Linked DNA regions of Homo sapiens: region 2 is linked to region 1. Evidence: promoter capture Hi-C in human tissues and cell types (Jung and others, 2019). All regions are on one chromosome and are shown on one strand. Each heading gives the region's core, a stretch centred on a gene start or on the middle of the fragment in contact. The rest is flanking DNA. Distances are from core to core; before and after follow the strand shown.

What was found. The method cuts DNA at HindIII sites, captures the fragments that hold promoters and counts their contacts. A contact is called where the count stands out against the background at its distance.
Region 2: a contact is called between a fragment that was not itself captured here and the fragment with the promoter of GRXCR2 in region 1, in 2 of the 25 tissues and cell types used here (H1 embryonic stem cells and pancreas).

The regions. Positions count from the first base shown.
Region 1 is chr5:145,870,776-145,875,251 of GRCh38, reverse strand. It overlaps GRXCR2 (glutaredoxin and cysteine rich domain containing 2), which reads left to right and starts at 2,238. Exons shown (of 3, transcript NM_001080516.2): 1 at 2,238-2,619. The coding sequence starts at 2,284. The HindIII fragment of the contact is 8,071 bases long and covers 213-4,476 here.
Region 2 is chr5:145,951,752-145,955,914 of GRCh38, reverse strand. The region is part of intron 2 of SH3RF2 (SH3 domain containing ring finger 2); the gene reads right to left. The region is part of intron 3 of LOC107986458 (a long non-coding RNA gene); the gene reads left to right. Among named protein-coding and RNA genes, the nearest start is that of SH3RF2, 17 kb to the right of the region's middle. The HindIII fragment of the contact is 3,739 bases long and covers 161-3,899 here.

The sequences.
Region 1 (4,476 bases), core at 989-3,488:
ATACAAAATATGCTCAATTCCTTTTTGAAAAGCTTTGTGTATTTGGTTTCTCTCACTTGAAGTCATTCATTTAACAATTACTGAGTTCTATTATGTACTGGGCACTTTGATAAACACTGGGAATAGACAGATAGTAAGGACAACTTCTGACTGCAAGATGTTCACAGTTGAATGGAGGGAAAAATAGGAAGGGCAAGGGAAAGTGAGAAGCATCTGAATGGCGGTAGGTCCGAAAGTCCCATGGCACTCTCCCTGGGGAAGGTGGGAAGGCTGCCCAGAAGCAGTGACATTTGAGGTGTGACTTGAAGGAGGAATGGAAATTTGACACTCTAAATCAGGAGACAGAGTACTGGATAAGAGACAGAAACTTGTGGGTTTGAGAAATGGGTAAGCTTGTTGGTGTAACTGGAACACCAATCCCAGGCAGCCCCTGGAAGAGTGACAGAGGGCAAGGCTGGAAAGGAAGGAAGGTGAGGCTGGTTTTTGAGGGGCTTTGCTTGTCACATGGAACAGTTAAGACTTAAGCCCTGATGCACTAGAAAAGATTTTTCAGCAAGAGACTGACACCTGTGGATTTGTTGTTTTGGACTATTGCTCTCACATCAATATGGAGAATGGAATTGGGGGTGAGTAGGGAAGTCCTTGGGAGACAGCTGCAACTTTAAAAATCAAAGTGATGAGGGTTTGCCCTAGGGCCAGGGTGATAGGGGTAGATGAAAGAAGGCAGTGGTGAAAGAATCCATGTGAATGGGCTGGGTGCGGTGGCTCATGCCTGTAGTCCCAGCACTTTGGGAGGTCAAGGCAGGCGGATCACGAGGTCAAGAGATTGAGACCATCCTGGCCAACATGGTGAAACTCCATCTCTACTAAAAATACAAAAATTAGCTGGGCATGGTGGCGTGTGCCTGTAGTCCCAGCTACTCGGGAGGCTGAGGCATGAGAATTGCTCGAACTCAGGAGGTGGAGGTTGCAGTGAGCCGAGATCGTACCACTGCACTCCAGCCTGGCAACAGAGTGAGACTCCGTCTCAAAAAAAAAAAAATAAAATAAAATAATAAAAAAAAAGAATCCAAGCGAATGGCTGTAGGGGAATAGGAGGGGTCAATTTGGGTAACTCAGTAAATGGTGATGCTGGTAGCAAAGACAGGGAGAAAGGCTTTACTCCACTTTCAGCTCCTCACATCCAACCTACCATTTTCTACCCAGCCCAAGGGCCCTTTTCTTTACAAACCTTCTTCCATCCTTGTCTCCTTAGAGACCACTTCCTTCCCAGAGTGGCTATTCTGGGATTCAGCTGTGGGCAGTTTGCTCTCTAAGCATGAGGTTATTATTTCACCTGTGTGAGGTCTGTATGGGATTGTAGGACTGTTCTCAGGCCCAGGTCACATGCTTCTGTGCTATTCACTCCAGCCACTAGTTCAGTGTCAGGCATTTACGAAGTCCAACAGGCAATGGGGACTTGTGCTGTGATTGCAAATGAAATCTTAAATGTAAAATACATACCAAGTGGAGGTGCTCTGGTTAGCGTAGGGGGAGAAGGCCCAGAATCCAGGACCCTCGGCCTTCTCCTGTTCTTAGCAGCAGCCTCCAAGAACCTCCACTGTATCTAGGACGTCATTCCCTCTTCTAGAACCAGAACTGGAAAACTTCTGGTTGTGTGGGCTGATCTTGGGTTTTGGAGTCAGATAGATCTGGGTTCAAATCCCTGCTCTGTCACTTACTTAGGTGTAATAGAGCAGACAAATGATGAAGATAAATGACAAGTGGCTCTAAGCCTCACTTTCCCCTGTGTAAAACAAAGGTAAGATTTTCTTTGTAGGGTTATCGTGAGGATGAAATAAAATAATGCATGTAACAATCTCTGGTACTTATGAAATGCTCACTAGATTTTAATTGTCATTGCTAACAATAAGAAGACACTTGTTAACTAATTGAGTGTCTGATCCTTATTGAATTGGCACATGTTCAGTCTAAATAAACTTCTTCATCCTCAGGTTAAGAAAGGTTAGGGTTGGGGTGAAGTCATGGTGAGCTTGGGATTATGAGAAGAATCAATCTTGTCTTATATTCCATCCACTCCATCAAACCAGAATCACCTGCCTTTTCATGAGGGTCTATCAATATTTAATGTATGGGTGTCAGTTGCTGTAAACTGACCATACCCCAGCAACAACTTGAATTAATTATATGCAGGAGGAGAGAAAATAAAATGCCTTTTTCTCAGAGGCCCAAGTTTCACCGGCTGCACGGAAGGCTGGAGACCACAGGGTCAACTTTCTGCTGATGGAGGACCCTGAGAAAAAGCTGAATCAGAAGAGTGATGGCAAACCCCGGAAAGTACGATTTAAAATCTCCTCCTCCTACAGCGGTCGAGTATTGAAGCAGGTCTTTGAGGATGGGCAGGAATTAGAGTCACCAAAGGAGGAATACCCTCACAGTTTTCTGCAAGAGTCTCTTGAAACAATGGATGGTGTTTATGGGTCTGGGGAAGTCCCCAGGCCCCAGATGTGCTCCCCTAAGCTGACTGCTCAGAGGATCAGTGTGTTTAGAGAGGGTAATGCCTACACCTTGGCAGGCGGCCAGCCTCGGTTCAACGATTACAAGGCGAATGACCATAAGGTTGGTATTGTGCATGGCATATAGGCTTTAAGGGTAGGGCTTCCTAAAACGTGTTTAGAGAAACTCCTAAATGGTTCAGATTTGTGTCTTGCTCCCCCTCCGGTACCAACCAGAACTGTTGGTGCACCAAATGGGAAGTTGTTATTAGACGAATATTTCTGGGGTAAAAATAACATGCTTGTTGACTACTAATTGGAAAGTGCAATGAGCATATATAGTATTCAAATTCCATCCAAGGTAATACATTGTAATTGGATCTTTGACTGAGTTTTCCTGGAATGTAAATTAAATAGAGGTGCAGTGGTTTTCAGGTTGTCAGACTGCGGTTTTAGACAATTATGCAGTCATTTTGTTTCCTGAAAGAGCTGAGTATTTGAAAGTGCTCATTTTACTCCAGCCAATTACTCAGCTTGCAGTTTATCCATGTCTTGTTTTTTACCCCTATTGCCTTCCTCATACTGCCTGCTTTGTCTATTTATTTTTCCTTTCCATTGCTCCTTAGCATAAGCTCTGGGTAGTTGGAGTCCTGGGAAGGGATGGTGAAACGCAAATCAGCCAGAGGATATGTTATGTGAGGAAGAAGTTTGAGCTAATGGTTCGATTGAAGAATGTGTTTAATCTATGAATTTCAATTACTTCCCAGTACCATGGATAATCAAAAGTCCATACATGATTTTCTTTTAAGGTAGAACCTGGAAAACATACACTGGTATCCAAAAATTCATAGGAGATGTATATATGCTGTCAGTGGGACCATGAATGACTTCTTAAAAAAGATAAAATACAATTATATAATGTATCCACGTTATTAATGAATAGCACACCAGGATGTGTTCTCATCTTTAAAGTGTGAAAGCCAGATAATTACTCTTGAATTATTTTTATTGTTAGTTTCCTAAGGGAATAGATAACACATCTATTGCAGACAAATGTATTACTGGCTTTACTGGCATTGGTAAAAGTATAATTATGGGCATGTTCACAATTACCGAAGATAACACTAGGCTTGTTTTTGATATTAAAAGGGGCTGAAATGAATGACCTCTTATCTTAATGGGGTGACGTATGCAGTACAAAGTGTCATCATGTACTATCTCTGTCTATATCTATGGCATTGGGTCTTTACTATAACCTTGGGGAGAAAGGCCAAAGTATGGTCATTCCCATTTTGCAGAAGAGAAAAATTGAGTGCCAAGTTGTTAAGGGATCCATCTGATACTACAGGGTCATTGGGTACAGAGTCAGAATAAGAATCCAGATCTTCTGATGCTACAAATGTTTTGCTTTAGGGCATGTTCCTTTTTTTAGAGAACCATATTATTACATAATAATAATAGCTACCATTTGTTGAGTGCTTATTAGGTCCTAGGCACTTGGCTAGTCTTGTACTTATACTATTTCTTTTTAACTATGTCTTATTTGTAGATTTAGAATTTACAAAGTCACAGTTCATGCAAACCTTATGCAAGGCCACAGTAGATAAATTTTGGGTTGCTTGATCTTCATAAGTCATGTGCTAAATTTAGCATTTATGAAAATGTATAATTTTTTTTTTCTTTTTTAGAGACAGGGTCTCATCTGTCAACCAGGCTGGAGTGCAGTGGTATGATCATAACTCACAGCAATCTCAAACTCCTGGGCTCAAGGGATCCTCCTGCCTCAGCCTCTCTGGTAGCTAGGACTATAGAATTTATAAATCTAGGTAAATGAGTCTTCATGGCAGCATGGCTCAGTTGGTTAAAACACAGTACTCTATGTGTTTTAGAGGCCATGTTGAAGGTCTGATTCCTGCTTGGCCTCATTATCTCTGTTTTCTTTGTTTCCTGATCAAGTGCCCCATCCCAATCATAGCCAGAT
Region 2 (4,163 bases), core at 781-3,280, 81 kb before region 1:
GAATGGCCTTTTTATCAGACTACAGCTTCCTTGATCTCCCCATAACTAAACCTACCCTGTGTTTCTTTCCAATTCTCTTCTTTTAGACTATATGATATGATCACACAAAGTAACATTTTATATGACATTGAATTATAGACATGTATGGCTGACCATATATGCTTATGTTCATCTATGGTAGATAAAACATAGCTCTGCATGGTCAGGTACCTCAATCCTTAATGCCCTTCCGACAGGACAAAGACAGGGAGAGTGGGAAAATTTTGCTCTACTTCTCTGACAAGTTTTGGTACTGGAAGCTCATTTTATGTTCTTCCCACCTTTCTAATACCCTGATCTTCCTTTTTCTCTTCAACTTTTATTTTAGATTCCTGTCCATGTGCAGGTTTGTTACCTGAGTATATTGTGGGATGCTGAGGTTTAGGGCGCGAATGATCCTGTCACCCAGGTACTGAGCATAGTACCCAATAGATAGTTTTTCAATCCTTATCCCCCTCTTTTCCTTCCCCACCTAGTAGTCCCCAGTGTCTATTGTTGCCATCTTTATGACCATGAGTACCCAATGTTTAGCTCCCACTTACAGGTGAGAACGTGCAGTATTTGGTTTTCGGTTCCTGGAATAATTCACTTAGGATGATGGCCTCCAGCTGCATCTATGTTACTGCAAAGGACATGATTTTGTTCCCCAACTGAAAATCAGGTCAGTTTTTGAACTGAAAATCAGATCAGGTTATTCCCTGCTTTAATCTTTCTCATTACATCTAGTACCCAACCCCCTTCGTTACTGATATAGTTTGTATATTTGTCCCCACCCACATCTAATGTTGAATCATAATCACCAGTACTGGAGGTGGGACCTAGTGGGAGGCGATTGGATCATGGGGGTGGATTTCTTATGAATGGTTTGCACCATCCCTTGGTGCTGTCCTCATGAGATCCAATCATTTAAAAGTGTGTGGCACTTCCCCCCACCTCTGGTCATTTAAAAGTGTGTGGCAACTCCCCGACCCTCTCCTCTCCACTCTCTCCCTCTCTCTCTCTCTCTCGCTCCTTGCTCCTGCTTTCACTATGTGACATGTCTGTTCCTACTTTGCCTTCTGCCATGATTGTAAGCTTCCTGAGGTCTCCCCAAAGCTGATGTTGGAGCTATGCTGCCTGGACAGCCTGCAGAACCATGAGCCAATTAAACCTCTTTTCTTATAAATTATCCATTCTCTAAATGTAAAATCCCAAACTATAAAAATCCTGGAAGACAACCTAGGTAATAGCATCCTGGAACATAGGAACGGGCAAAGATTTCATGACAAAGACACTAAAAGCAATTGCAACAAAAGCAAAAATTGACAAATGGAATCTAATTAAACTTAAGAGCTTCTGCACTGCAAAGGAAACTGTCAACAGAGTAAACAGACAACCTACAGAATGGGAGAAAATATTTGCAAACTATGCATCTGACAAAGGTCTAATATTTGGCATCTATAAGGAACTTAAATTTATAAGAGAAAAACAAACAACCCTATTAAAAAGTGGGCAAGGAACATGAACAGACACTTTTCAAAAGATGACATAATGCATCCAACAAGCATATAAAAAAAGCTCAATATCGCTGATCATTAGAGAAATGCAAATCAAAACCACAGTGAGATACCATCTCACACTAGTCAGAAGAGCTATTATCAAAAAGTCAAAAAATAACAGATGCTTGCGAGGTTGCGGAGAAAAGGGAATCCTTATACACTGTTGGTGGGAGTGTAAATGAGTTCAACCATTGTGGAAAGCCATATGGCGATTCCTCAAAGAGCTAAAAGCAGAAGTACCATTCCACTCAGTAATCCCATTACTGGGTATATACCCAGAGAAATATAAAGCATCTACCACAAAGACACATGCACATGAATGTTCATTGCAGCACTGTTCACAATAGCAAAGGCATAGAATCAATCTAAATGCCCATCAATGACAGATTGGATAAAGAAAATGTGATATATATACACCGTGAAATACTATGCAACCATAAAAAGAATGAGATCGTGTCTTTTGAGGGAACATGGATGGAGCTGAAGGCCATTGTCCTTAGCAAACTAATGCAGGAACAATAAACCAAATACGGCATGTTCTCACTTTTAAGTGGGAGCTAAATGATGAGAACACATGGACACAAAGAAGGGAACAAAAGACACTGGGGTCTACTCGAAGGTGGAGGATAGGAGGAGGGAGAGGAGCAGAAAAAGTAACTTTTGGGTACTAGGCTTAATTCCTGGGTGATGAAATAACCTGTACAACAAACCCCTGTGACATGTGCTTACCTGTATAACAAACCTTCACATGTACCCCTGAACCTAAAATAAAAGTTAAACAAGTAAATAAATTACCCAGTCTCAGGTATTTATAGCAATGCAAGAATGGCCTAACACAATTACCATGGTTTCTTTGTCCCTCTGCATCTTCCCCTGCAGCTTATCTCATGCCACTCGCCTCAGTGCTTACCACCCCTCAGCCACGTGGGTTTTCTCTCAGTTTCCAGAACTCAGATCTTGCCAAGTCCTCTCCACTCTTTGAGAACAGGGTCAGGATGTTCTCCCTCATTGGAACCCACTTCCCTGCCTTCCTCTCATCCTTCAGGTATCAGCATAAATGCCTCCCTTAGAGAGGTCTTTTTTTGACCACCCTAATAAAATATCTTTCCTTTTATCCTCCATTTCATACCCTTGTCTATATTTAGTTTATATAGCAGACACATTGCAATTTGCAATTATTTTTATTATTTGTGTGTGTGTGTGTGTGTGTGTGACAGAGAGAGAGAGAGAGAGACTGTTGGTGTTCTGCCTATATTTCTTCAGAGCCTTTACCATTTCTGTGCAATTCAGCTTCACTTCCAATAGCTGGCACCTATGATTTTGTTGAATGCCTTCTATTGAGATTCTAGAATGTACTTTGCCTTTGGGGGCAGCTCTTAACCAATGACAGGTATGAGGGTATAAATAACCCAGATCTCTCATCTCTTGGCCAGCACAGTTCTAAGGTCTGGGTTTTATACTGTTTCCCAGAGTTTCCTCAAAAGATTAAGCTTTACTGCCCACTGCAGTAGCTGGCCTCATAACACAGCTTTCTTGGCCGCCCTCTCTTCCCTATATGATGCCATCACTCCCCTGCCAATGTCCTTACGCCTCCCAGATAATCTATAAGCATTCAATCCTCATCTCAGGATCTGCTTCTGAGGGGAACCCAGCTAAGATTATAAACATTTTTGTTCCTTTTATCTATCCCATTAGAGTATACATTACACGTCTGTCTTGTTCATGGTTATATCCTAGAGCTTAGTTTAGTGTCTGACACATAGTGAGCACTCAATATACATTTGTGTAGTCAGTGAATATTAGTGGTTATTATTATTGAAATGTAGAATTTCTTCCTTTCACTGAGTTGTGTTACACCAGTAGCTTACCATATCCCCCACAGAATGTGAGATGTGCCCGGCAGAACTTAGAGGAACAAAAGTTGTTTTTTTTTCTATAGTGCTGTTAAAAGTAGCACTACTATTAAGATATTGTTTTAGCAAGGTTTGTTATGGTTAGAGGCTCTTTATGAGAAGGAATCCCAAGAAAGATTCTCTAGGATTGTGGCAATTCTTCCTGGTATGACCTGAAACCCCAGCATGTGGATACTTTAGAGATGTTTTAGGCAACAAAACCCCATTATGCTTATTTACAGGTGGTTTAAAGAGAGCAACTGAACCCTGGACCAGGGACCCTCAGTGGAATAAGATGGATACTTATGCAGAGAGAGTGGCAATAATAATATTAAATAATAGCAAAAATAATTAACATGTGCTAAGTGCATTTATGGGCCAGTCCTCAAGTGTATTTGTTAATCTCAGAACCAATGTAGGTGGTAGGTTACAAATTATTCCCATTCTTGATTAAGAGATTGGGGCTCAGGGAGGTTGACTTATCCAAAGTCATACAGCTATCAAAAGGTAGAACTGAGATTTGAAACTAGCTATTATAACTTCAGAGCCCCTGTTCTTACCTAGTGCTCTATCTTGTCCCCCAGGTTAGGAATACTTAAAACCAGTTCAATAGGAGAACTAAGCGAGGTAGTCCAGCCCGGAGAAAATAAGACTGAAAATAAGGTGTTAAAATAAGATGCAACCCTCCTGAGTT